Regions from separate parts of the Homo sapiens genome. Here all the other regions are linked to region 4. Evidence: promoter capture Hi-C in human tissues and cell types (Jung and others, 2019). All regions are on one chromosome and are shown on one strand. Each heading gives the region's core, a stretch centred on a gene start or on the middle of the fragment in contact. The rest is flanking DNA. Distances are from core to core; before and after follow the strand shown.

The links. The method cuts DNA at HindIII sites, captures the fragments that hold promoters and counts their contacts. A contact is called where the count stands out against the background at its distance.
Region 1: a contact is called between a fragment that was not itself captured here and the fragment with the promoter of MMP24 in region 4, in 2 of the 25 tissues and cell types used here (H1 embryonic stem cells and IMR-90 fibroblasts).
Region 2: a fragment that was not itself captured here is called in contact with the fragment with the promoter of MMP24 in region 4 in 2 of the 25 tissues and cell types used here (heart left ventricle and small bowel).
Region 3: a fragment that was not itself captured here is called in contact with the fragment with the promoter of MMP24 in region 4 in 2 of the 25 tissues and cell types used here (IMR-90 fibroblasts and lymphoblastoid cells).

The regions. Positions count from the first base shown.
Region 1 is chr20:35,132,260-35,134,959 of GRCh38, reverse strand. It overlaps MMP24-AS1-EDEM2 (MMP24-AS1-EDEM2 readthrough), which reads left to right. Exons shown (of 15, transcript NM_001355008.2): 10 at 11-222. It overlaps EDEM2 (ER degradation enhancing alpha-mannosidase like protein 2), which reads left to right. Exons shown (of 11, transcript NM_018217.3): 6 at 11-222. Among named protein-coding and RNA genes, the nearest start is that of EDEM2, 14 kb to the left of the region's middle. RefSeq lists an enhancer at 389-1,588. The HindIII fragment of the contact is 9,994 bases long and covers 1-2,700 here.
Region 2 is chr20:35,148,679-35,151,378 of GRCh38, reverse strand. All of the region lies in intron 5 of MMP24-AS1-EDEM2 (MMP24-AS1-EDEM2 readthrough), which reads left to right. Among named protein-coding and RNA genes, the nearest start is that of EDEM2, 2.7 kb to the right of the region's middle. The HindIII fragment of the contact is 8,464 bases long and covers 1-2,700 here.
Region 3 is chr20:35,111,170-35,113,869 of GRCh38, reverse strand. No RefSeq gene overlaps it. Among named protein-coding and RNA genes, the nearest start is that of TRPC4AP, 20 kb to the right of the region's middle. The HindIII fragment of the contact is 9,872 bases long and covers 1-2,700 here.
Region 4 is chr20:35,225,326-35,228,025 of GRCh38, reverse strand. It overlaps MMP24 (matrix metallopeptidase 24), which reads right to left and starts at 1,336. Exons shown (of 9, transcript NM_006690.4): 1 at 1,042-1,336. The coding sequence starts at 1,287. All of the region lies in intron 3 of MMP24-AS1-EDEM2 (MMP24-AS1-EDEM2 readthrough), which reads left to right. The HindIII fragment of the contact is 20,114 bases long and covers 1-2,700 here.

The DNA.
Region 1 (2,700 bases), core at 201-2,700, 93 kb after region 4:
GATTGTTCAGCCTTTCAGACCCCCACTGGCATGCCATATGGAACAGTGAACTTACTTCATGGCGTGAACCCAGGAGAGACCCCTGTCACCTGTACGGCAGGGATTGGGACCTTCATTGTTGAATTTGCCACCCTGAGCAGCCTCACTGGTGACCCGGTGTTCGAAGATGTGGCCAGAGTGGCTTTGATGCGCCTCTGGGAGAGCCGGTCAGATATCGGGCTGGTAGGTTCGCTGCTGCCCTTCCTGTTTGAGTCCCTGCTTACGAGGCCCAGGGCTCTGAGCAATAAGTTGCAGTCAAGCCAAGGAAAACTTAGGGTGACCTTGGGAGTGGTCCAGGATTTGGGCTCAGGACACCAAAAATAGACCAAGCCTCCAATTCAAGTTTGGCTTGGAGTGGGGAGGAGAGTGGGAAAGCACGTTTCTGGCAGGCAGCAGGGGCTGCATTCAGCTTTGACCAGTTGAGATTCTCTGATTTCTAGGAAGAGGGTCGTATGTTTCATGCCCCTGACTCACTTGACGGCTTCAGATCATCAGCTCGTCCGGCCTTCATTTTTAGCGTCTATCTGTATTTGCTGTGTTTCTTAGGACACCGGTTCTGAGAGATACTGAGTGGCAGTTGCATGAAAAAATGAGTCTTGGCCAATTAAGTTAGGGGAATATTAGATATAATATCCCCCCCTTTTTTGGAGAGTCAGAATGCACATGAGCAGAATAAAAATCCTCTAGTAAAGAAATCTATTCAACTTTGTTTAATTTAACATTTCCCAAACTTATTTAACACCAGAGCTTCCCTTTATCTTCCAGTACTATTAACCCATGGAAATTGAACACACTTTGGACCAGATGATCTCTAAGGTCAGTTTCAGCTTCTAAATGGGATAATCAATAAGATTAACAGTAATTGAGCCAAAGCCATCCAGGACATAACACTGGATTTAGTCAGAACTGGATTCAAGCCCTGGCCTTGCTACATCGAAACTGTGTGACCCTGAGCAAGTCACTCAACCTCTCTGGTCCTCAGTTACTTCAGCAGTAACGTTAATATATTAATACCAACTTTGCTGAGTCACTCTGACTTAGGAAGACTGCATTTAGGTCTAGGCACATTTTATGCAGTCTGGTGCTAATCCAGCTTGAAAAGTAAAGCTTGTGTGAGGACTCCCCGAAAATCCCTTAAGAAGGTGCCCCCCTAAGGCTGGGTGCGGTGGCTCACGCCTGTAATTCCAGCACTTTGGGAGACTGAGGCGGGCGGATCACCTGAGATTGGGAGTTCGAGACCAGCCTGACCAACATGGAGAAACCCCATCTCTACTAAAAAATACAAAATTAGCCGGGCGTGGTGGTGCATGCCTGTAATCCCAGCTACTTGGGAGGCTGAGGCAGGAGAATTGCCTGAACCTGGGAGGTGGAGGTTGGGATGAGCCGAGATCGCGCCATTGCATTCCAGCCTGGGCAACAAGAGCGAAACTCCATCTCAAAAAAAAAAAAAAGGTGCCCCGCTGGAGACCTGTAGTAAATCCCTTAGTCCATCTCAGGCAGGTTTTGCTCCAGCAGTGGGACCGTAGTAGACTCTGTTGGTGCCATGCCCATATCCTCTCAACTCTTAACATTTCCATGCACACTGGCCAGTCTTCCAACTGCCATCACCTGCGCCTCTTTGCCTGTGGGTCTCCTCTGGTGCCTGGAGCCACTCTGCTTGCCTTTGGCTGAGGGTACCAGGATTTAATGCTACCCATGAGTAGCTCTCAAGCCGGTAACTGATACTGATGGGAGTTGGTGGATAAACATTCCAGTTCCCTGCCCCTTGGGTGGGATCACTCCGAAGCTGGAGCTCTACACTGAATTCCTAAGCTCCCCAGCAAGATTGAACTCCAGTTCCCATGGTGGAAACCTGCCTGATGGCATACCCCTTAAATGCCGCCTCCCTTGCCCTGCCTCACTTCCCCCTCCTCTACTGGTGTTTACAAGGACTTACCTTCCAAATCAACTACTTTCAGGCAGAATGAGGTTGTGCTCCTGGGGGGACACAAACCAACGCGGAACAGTTAGCTATTTCTTTGAGTACCAGATGAAGTTACCAGCTTCCATGAGGGTCTAAGCCATATGAAAAATACATATATTTGGCTGGGCGCAGTGGCTCACGCCTGTAATCCCAGCACTTTGGGAGGCCAAGGCAGGCGTATCACCTGAGGTCGGGAGTTCGAGACCAGCCTGACCAACAGGGAGAAACCATGTCTCTACTAAAAATACAAAAAATAAAATAAATACAATAAAATAGAAAAATACGTATCTTTGTTTATTTTTTTGAGACAGAGTCTCCCCCTGTCGCCCAGGCTGGAGTGCAGTGGCACGATCTCGGCTCACTGCAACCTCCCCCTCTTGGGTTCAAGTGATTCTCATGCCTCTGCCTCCTGAGTAGCTGGGATTATAGGCACACACCACCATGCCTGGCTAATTTTTGTGTTTTTATTAGAGACAGGGTTTTACCATGTTGGCCAAGTTGGTCTCGGACTTCTGACCTCCAGTGATTTTGCCCCCCTCAGCCTCCCAACGTGCTGGGATTATAGGCATGAGCCACCGCGCCTGGCCGGCATTGCCAATTTTTCACAGTCTCTACAGAGACTGAACAATTAAAAAAAAAAAAGTCAAAGGATACAAAAAAGGGTACTCAGTGACATTGGTGAAGTCCCCTTTTGCCCC
Region 2 (2,700 bases), core at 108-2,607, 77 kb after region 4:
ATCCCCCTCCTCTTCCTTGTTTAGTTGGCAAATAGTCAAATTCCATTTGGAATGCTGTCCCACTGTTTTATTCTGCTTCATGGATGTTTCTGGGGGAAATTTGTGCAGTCGATGTGTGTTGAATTCTGTTTTCTGATTTTTTGCAATAACTGTATGGATCTGTTAATATTTTCCTTGTGCTGAGAGATAGTCTCACTCTTTCATCTTCCAGATATGGAAACTGAGTCCCCAAAAGGGAAAATGACTTGCCCGAGATCACACAGAGATAGTGGATAAACAAGTAACAAGACCAAGGGTTTCCGACAACCAGTCCAAGTCTTGTTCCACTGAACACAGAGTCCGAGGACATTGGCCTCAGATACTGATGTGATCTGAGCTCCCTCCAAACTCTATTCACCCACAGGGAAGACTTGAACACCCTATGATTCCAAGTATTCTCCAATTGACATCTTCCCCTTCTAACAAAATTGCAAGCACTTCAAGGGAAAGGACTATGACTTGATTATTTTGGAATCTTAGTTATATGCTCAGCACTGTGCCTCAAACTTTTGAGGGTAGGAACTATTGCCTATAACACCTTGGATGACTCGGGGCAGATGCTCAGTAAATGGAAACAACTGCCCTGCCTTAAAAAAAAAAGAAGAGTTGGGGAGGCAGGGAAGAGAATTAATATGTATCAAGAATTTAATATATACCAGTCACTGTGCTGAGAATGTTCACTTTCATTATCCCATTTAATTCCCAGAATTCCTTTATGGCCTCATCAATTTCTGTATTTTACAATAGGAAATTGAGTCTCAGAGAGGTAGGCAACTTACCCTGAGTCTCTTCACAAGTAAATGCTCAAGTGTGACACTTCACTGGTGGGTCATAACCTTCTAGAATCCAATATCATAAACACAGAGTGAGAGAAAGAAGAGTCCTGATACTTTCCAGAGGGTAAAACAATTTTTTTATTCTCATTAGAGAACATATAGTCACATGAATTGTGAAAACGTAAGTCATGGTTTTATTTGTTCAGTGACAGTGTGGAGAATGACATCAAGCTAGAAAAAGAATATAAAGGAAAATCATGAGTGTTTCAATCTTGCTCATAAAGAGAGACCTATCGTTACCAAATCCAGGCAACCTGAACCCACCCTTCCTGCAAAAGTTTTATCCACACTAGAATTTTGAATGGGAGACAAAAAGATAAGCTATAGGATTTATAATATGGAGAAGGTGAATTTCGTCACAGGGAAAGGCCCAGGTCTGAAAAATATTTAGTCCCTGCGCTAGGCTGGAAACAGCCACCTAAAGTCCAGGTCCTAATCTCTGGAAACTGTAAATGTTTCTCTATTTGGAAAAATGGTGTTTTTTTTTTTTTTTCCCCCTAGATGTGATTAAGTTAAAAATCTTGGAATGGGAGTTTATCCTGTATTATCTGGGTTGGGGGGGGCGCGGGGGGGGTCCTAAATGCAATTATAAATGTCCTTATAAGAGAAAAGCAGAAGGAGATGTGACACATCCACAGAGAAGGCGATATGAAGGCACGGGCAGATACTGGAGTGATACAACCATAAGCCAAGGAATGCCAGCAGTCAGGAGAATCTAGAGAGGCAAGGAACGGATTATCCCTTAGAGCCTTTGGAGTGGGTGTGGCCCTGTCAATAACTTAATTTTAGCCCAGTGAAATTGATTTCAGGCTCCTGACCTCCCAAACTGCGAGAGAATAAATTTCTGTTGCTTTAAGCCACTTGGTTTGTGGTAATTTGTTGCAGGAATCACAGGAAACGAATACAGTGCTCCTGTGTTGTTATCCAGGTCTCAGCTTACTGTCATCTCCTTTCCCTTCCATTTGGAAGCCCCAAGAAGAGTTTCTTTTTTTTTTTTTTTTTTGAGACAGAGTATCGCTCTGTCTCCCAGGCTGGAGTGCAGTGGCCTGATCTTGATCTTGGCTCACTACAACCTCCACCTCCCGGGTTCAAGCGATTCTCCTGCCTCAGCCTCCTGAGTAGCTGGGACTACAGGCGTCTGCCACCACTCCCGGCCAATTTTTGTATTTTTAGTAGAGACAGGGTTTCACCATATTGGCCAGGTTGGTCTTGAACTCCTGACCTCGTGATCCGCCCGCCTTGGCCTCCCAAAGTGCTGGGATTACAGGCGTGAGCCACTGCACCCGGCCAAGAAGAGTTTCTAAAAACATCCCAGGCTGGGTACAGTGGCTTATGCCTGTAATCCCAGCACTTTGGGAGGCCTGGCTGCACTCTGGCTCAACAAACTGAGCTATCACTTCCATCTGACTTTTTCAGCAAATAAGAGATAGCCAATCCTAGAATCATAGAAAGCTCGACCGAAAAGGATCTTAAAGATCCATTTGTTCAAACTCCTCATTATTTATAGACAAGGATGCTAGCCCCAGAGAAGGAGAGGGTCACATACACAGGTTATAGATGAGTGACAGAGTTGTAATTAACTGGATCCTAGATCTGACTTCAAATCCAGTGTTGGTTCTACCGCATGTCACACTGACCAAAGTCATGGGTGTTGCTGTGGTCTAAGGTGCTGACCAAATTTTAGAAACTTGGGAATAAGGGGAATGGAGAAATGGATCACAAACCTCCTGAAAGCTATAGTGCCCCAGGGTAGTCATTTGTCTTTTTTTTTTTTTTTTTTTTTTTTTTTTTGATATGGAGTTTTGCTGTTTTGCCCAGGCTGGAG
Region 3 (2,700 bases), core at 52-2,551, 110 kb after region 4:
CCTTCTGGGCTCAAGCAATCTTCCCACCTTAGCCTCCCGAGTAGCTGGGACAACTGGAGCATGCCACCATGCCTGGCTAATTTTCCTAATTTTGTATTTTTTGTTGAGATGGGATTTTGCCACGTTGCTCAGGGTGGTCTCAAACTCCTGAGCTCAAGCAGTCTGCCTGCCTTGGCCTCCCAAAGTGCTAGGAGGCATGAGCCACCGTGCCTGGCCAGGATGTACTATTTTATTTTATTTTGTTTATTTTTTTATTTTTATTATTTATTTTTTTATTTTATTTTTTATTTATTTTATTTTATTTATTTTTTATTTTTTTATTTTTATTTTATTTTATTTTATTTTATTTTTATTTATTTTCTTATTTATTTGGAGACAGGATCTCACTCATGCCCTGGCTGGAATGCAGTGGCATGATCTGAGCTCACTGAAGCCTCCACCTCCCAGGCTCAAGCGGTCATCCCACCCCAGCGTCCCAAGAAGCTGGGACCACAGGTGCATGCCACCATGCCTGGCTAAGTAAAATTTTAAATAAACAAAAATGGAGCGAACAGGACATCCATCCTTTGTGTGCTCATCACCCAATTTCAACAAACTAGCTTCAAAGATGATGAATTCATGGCCAACCTTATTTCATTTATATCCACACTAGATTATTTAGGATTCCAAACATTTTATTCCTAAAAGTATTTCAGAATGCATCCCCAAAGCATGCCTATAAAAATAAATCATTATTCCTTGATATCCTCTCCAATGTTCAAAATGTTTTGTTTCATAACTTTGTATTATAGTTTGTTTGCATCAGGACCCACATAGGGTTGATTTATATATTTGAAATTAGATGATATATCTCTGAAATGTCTTTTAATTTACAGGAATTCTTTCCCTCTCCCTCCCTCCCTCCTTTCCCACTCCTCCTCTATTTTCATTGCAGTTTGTTTGTTGAAGACAACAGTTGTATGTCCTGTAGGTTTCCATATTATGGATTTTGTTAATTGCATCTCTGAGGTATTTATTATATAACTGTTTTTTAAAGTTGATATTAAGATCTAGAGACATCATCAGATTTGGATTTTTACTTTTGTTTTTATTTTTATTTGTGTATTTATGTATTTTGAGACAGCGTCTCACCCTGTCACCCAGTGGGGTGATCACAGTTCACTGCAGCCTCACGGGCACAAGTGATTCTCCCGCCTCAGCCTCCCGAATAGCTGGGACTACAGGCCCACACCACCACACCTGGCTAATTTTTAAATTTTTTGTTTAGATGGGGTCTCGCTATGTTGTCTAGGCTGGTGTTTTTATTTTTCAAGAATAAGCACTGTTGTTTCTTTTGGTCAAGAGACACATGATGTCTCCTTGCCTGTTACTAACAGCCATTTGTTGGTCATTGCTTGGATCCATTATTTCAACAGGGGTTTCAAAATAGTGAGATTTTAATTAGTCTAGACTACTTCTCTTTTTTTTTTTTTTTTTTTTTTTTTTTGAGATGAAGTTTTGCTCTTGTTGCCCAGGCTGGAGTGCAATGGCTTGATCTCGGCTCACCGCAACCTCTGCCTCCCGGGTTCAAGCAATTCTCCTGCCTCAGCCTCCTAAGTAGCTGGGATTACAGGCATGCGCCACCACACCCAGCTAATTTTGTATTTTTAGTAAAGACAAGGTTTCACCATGTTAGTCAGGCTGGTCTCGACCTCCTGACCTCAGGTGATACACCTACCTTGGCCTCCCAAAGTGCTGGGATTACAGGTGTGAGCCACCATGCCCAGCCAAGGCTAGACTACTTCTCTAAAGAAAGACTTCCTCTCGTCAACTATTTGGGTTCCTTGGGGCACAGTTCATTCAGGAAAGCCAGGATAAATATTTGATTCTTAACTTTTATTTTTTATTTTCCAGAATAATGCATCATTTTCCTAGCATCTTCCAATTGTGACAATGAAGTTTTGTTTTTCAAGTATTGTGAACTCTTGGATTTAAACTCATTTGATGGTTTTCAGTTCATTGAAATTATTTTTCTTATCAAAGCTCAAATTGTCCCATTTCTGGCCAGTGGAAGCCTCTCTTCAAGTTAGCCCTGAGTCCTGTTAACACAACCCCAATAGTCTTTGATAGTGTCCTGCTTTCTGGTATTACAAGATGTTCCAAGCTCAGCTGATCCCGTTCCTATCCCAGCCCTGAATCAACTGTTTCTCTAAATAGCTCAGGAGGTGACTTTTAACCAGGAATTTGTCTGGCTTTATCTGCCAGCCTCATCTTTGCCCATGAACCTTGGCTAATTCAGCTGCTGATCATTTTCTTCAGTACCATGGCAAACCTCTGGCTACCTTGATAGGCAGGGATATACCTCCTGCCCTCTCTTCTATTACTTTGCCTCAAATAGAGACTCAGGCCTACACATAATTCCCCATAACCTAGACGAGAACTGCTATAACTTTGAAGAAGTCTTGACTGAAAACTGAGGCATAATGGAAGGAAATTACATCATCTACTAGCTAACAGCTACTATTAGCTATGACTACTCTTAGAACCACAGTCCACTTCATTATTCAGGCTTCTTTGTGGCCAAGGCCAGCTCATCCCCACACCCAGGGATACCCTTGATCATTAGTCAACACCCCGGATTCCAGGCCAGATCAGAGAGACGAAAGAAAGTCCTTTCCTAAACCCTGCTCTTCCCTAACTTAGAAAGTTGTACTTTTCTAT
Region 4 (2,700 bases), core at 87-2,586:
CATCATTTATTAGAATATTGCAGTCCTCTAGGTTGGAAGATACTAGAGAAATTAGTCCAACTGCACCCCCCATGAGATATAGGATAAGGTCATGGGTAAATAAGGGGAGACTAGAGTCAGCCTGCCTAGGTTAGAATTCCAATTCCATCACTCACTAGCTGTGTGACCTTGGGCAAGTTACTTAAGCTCTTTGAGTCTGTATCCCCATCTGTAAAATGGGGATAATAATTGCAGCTATTTCATAGAGTAGTTATGAGGATTGAATTGGATAATTCGTATAAAACATAGCACCAGGCCTGGCACATAGTGAGTGTTCAGTAAATGCTAGCTGGCATTATTGTGATGATGATGTATGCATCCATGCAAGCATTATGCATGCCTCCATCCAATCCCCTCCGAGAGCTTTTACTTGCACATGCCAGTGATGAGCAGCTCGCCGCCTCCTAAGCTGGTTGAGCAGCTCCAATTGTTACAAACTTCTTCCTATATCGAGCCCAAATTTGTCTTCTTGCAACCCCCACTCCCGCTGGCCCTAGTTCTGCCCTGTGGGGCCAAGCTAGAACAAGTCTATCCTACCTCCACCTGACAGCCCTTCAGCTACGAAGACAGTGATCGAGTCCTTCCTCCGCCCTCCCCCTCCCCCTTCTCCAGCTTGAACATCCTCGGTTTCTTCTCCCAACCCACAACAGACTGGCTGCGCTTACTATTTACTCCGAGGCGTTGTACGGTTTCCCTCGCACATAGTCATGCAGGCCACACACCCCACTGCCAACACAACAAACCCGACCCTCGTGCTCGGCCCCCGCCCGCTGCCCCTGTCCGCGGTGCTGAAGCAGCTCCCGGCCTCGGCGGCCCTCGGCGAGGCCCTCCCCAGCCCCCGCCCTGGGCCGCGCCAGCCCGGACCCAAGGCGCGGACCCCCGGCGCGCCGCCTCCGCGACCTCGGCAGTAGGTGCGGCCCGGCCCAGGCCCGTCCCCGGTGCCGCCCCCCGCCCTGCCCGGATGCCCCGAGCCCGCGCCCCGGCCCCGCGCGCCAGCCCCACCTGCCCGGCGAAGGGCGCCTCCGCCTCGTCCGCCCGCGCCACCGCCACCGCCACCGCTGCCCGGTTCCCTGCCCCCGCCGCCGCCGCCGCCGCCCGCGCGGCGCCCGGGAGGCAGCAGAGCGCGGGCAGCAGCAGCAGCAGCAGCCGCCCAGGGACCCGCCAGCGGCTCCAGCGCGGGGCCTGGCCCGGCGGCGGCGGCGGCGGCGGCGGCCCCGGCGCGGCGCGGCCGCCCCGGCTCCTCGGCATCCCGGCGGCGGGGCCCGCGCCCGGCCCGCCTGCCTTCGCCGCCGCCGCCGCCGCCTCGGCCGCCAGCGCGCCCCCGCCTCCGCGCGCCCCGCCCCGGTGGGGGGCGGCCGGGGGCGCGGGGGCAGCACCCGGGCGGGACCTGCGAGGGCAGTGGCTCCCCGACCAGCCCTGGGGCAGGGGCCGCGGAGCGGCGCTGGGGAGGGGGTTGCAGAGGCTAAAAGAACAGTTCTAGAGGCAGGGTCCGAAGGGGTGGAACTGGAGGTCGGGGTCTGGGGGTAGCCCTGAGCAGGAGGGGGAAGAGGCTAAATCAGTAATCCTGGAGGTAGAACAACTGGATGGCCCTGGGGGAACATATCCGGGGTTGGGGGTCCGGAACCCTGGGGAGAGGGTCCTAGGGAGTGGCATTGGAGGAGAGGGGGCCTGAGAGGCAGCCTGGGGGAGGAGACTGAGGAGCGGCTCTGGGGTAAAGGCGGGGTTCGAGAGCAAGCTAAAGAAATAGCCCTGGGTCTGAGAGGGTGACTCCGGAGAGGGAGCTCTGAGTGGCTCTCCTGGGCCGGGGTGGTGGGGGAAAGGGGTAGAGAAGACCTGAGGAGCGTTTAAGAGGGGGCATTCCTGTGAGACATTAGGTGAAGTTGAGGTGAAGCTCAGTCCCTCACCCCTAGAGGGAAAGAGCTCATCCAGCTGGGAAGATCATCTTTCATCCAAAACAACCCATATTTATCAAGCGCTTTCTATTTGTAGGGCTCTGGGCTACTTGGGATGCTGAAAGGAAAAAAAAAAACACCCAAAAACAAAAACAAAAAAGAGAAGGCCGATTTCCTGGAGTGCAGAGGTTTACAGCTTGATGAGAAAACATAAACGCAAAGAAAAACAGAATGGCAAACACCACGTGTCAACAAGGATACAGGCGGCTGCTCCAGGGGTCGAGGGAGACCTGATGAGGGGCTGGGGAAGTTAGGAAAAAGTGTAATGGAGGAGGGTGGGACTCTAGCTAGGACCTGAAGGAAAGGCTGGATTTAAACCAGGGGAGGGGAGAGGAGAGGGCATTTCAGGGAGGAAGTTGAGGGTGTACAGGATGTGCCTGAGGCGGCAGATAAGTTTCTCTGGAGCACAGGGTTCCTATAGGAAAGTGTTGGGAAGTGAGGGAAGTTGTACAAGACAGTGAATGCTAGGATAATAAATTTGGGTTGTGTTCTGAAGGAAAATGGGGGAGGGTGGTCATTAAAGGTTGTGTGTGTGTGGTGTGTGTGTGTGTATGTGTGTGTTTAAGCAGGATGATGTGTGAAAATAGTATTTTATGATTACGTGGTAATTTGGAGATGAAAAAAGGGCACAGGCTTTAGCGTCAGACCTATGTTCATATCTTGGCTCTGTTCCATTTTTATAAAATGATGCTACTATTACTGTATAAGA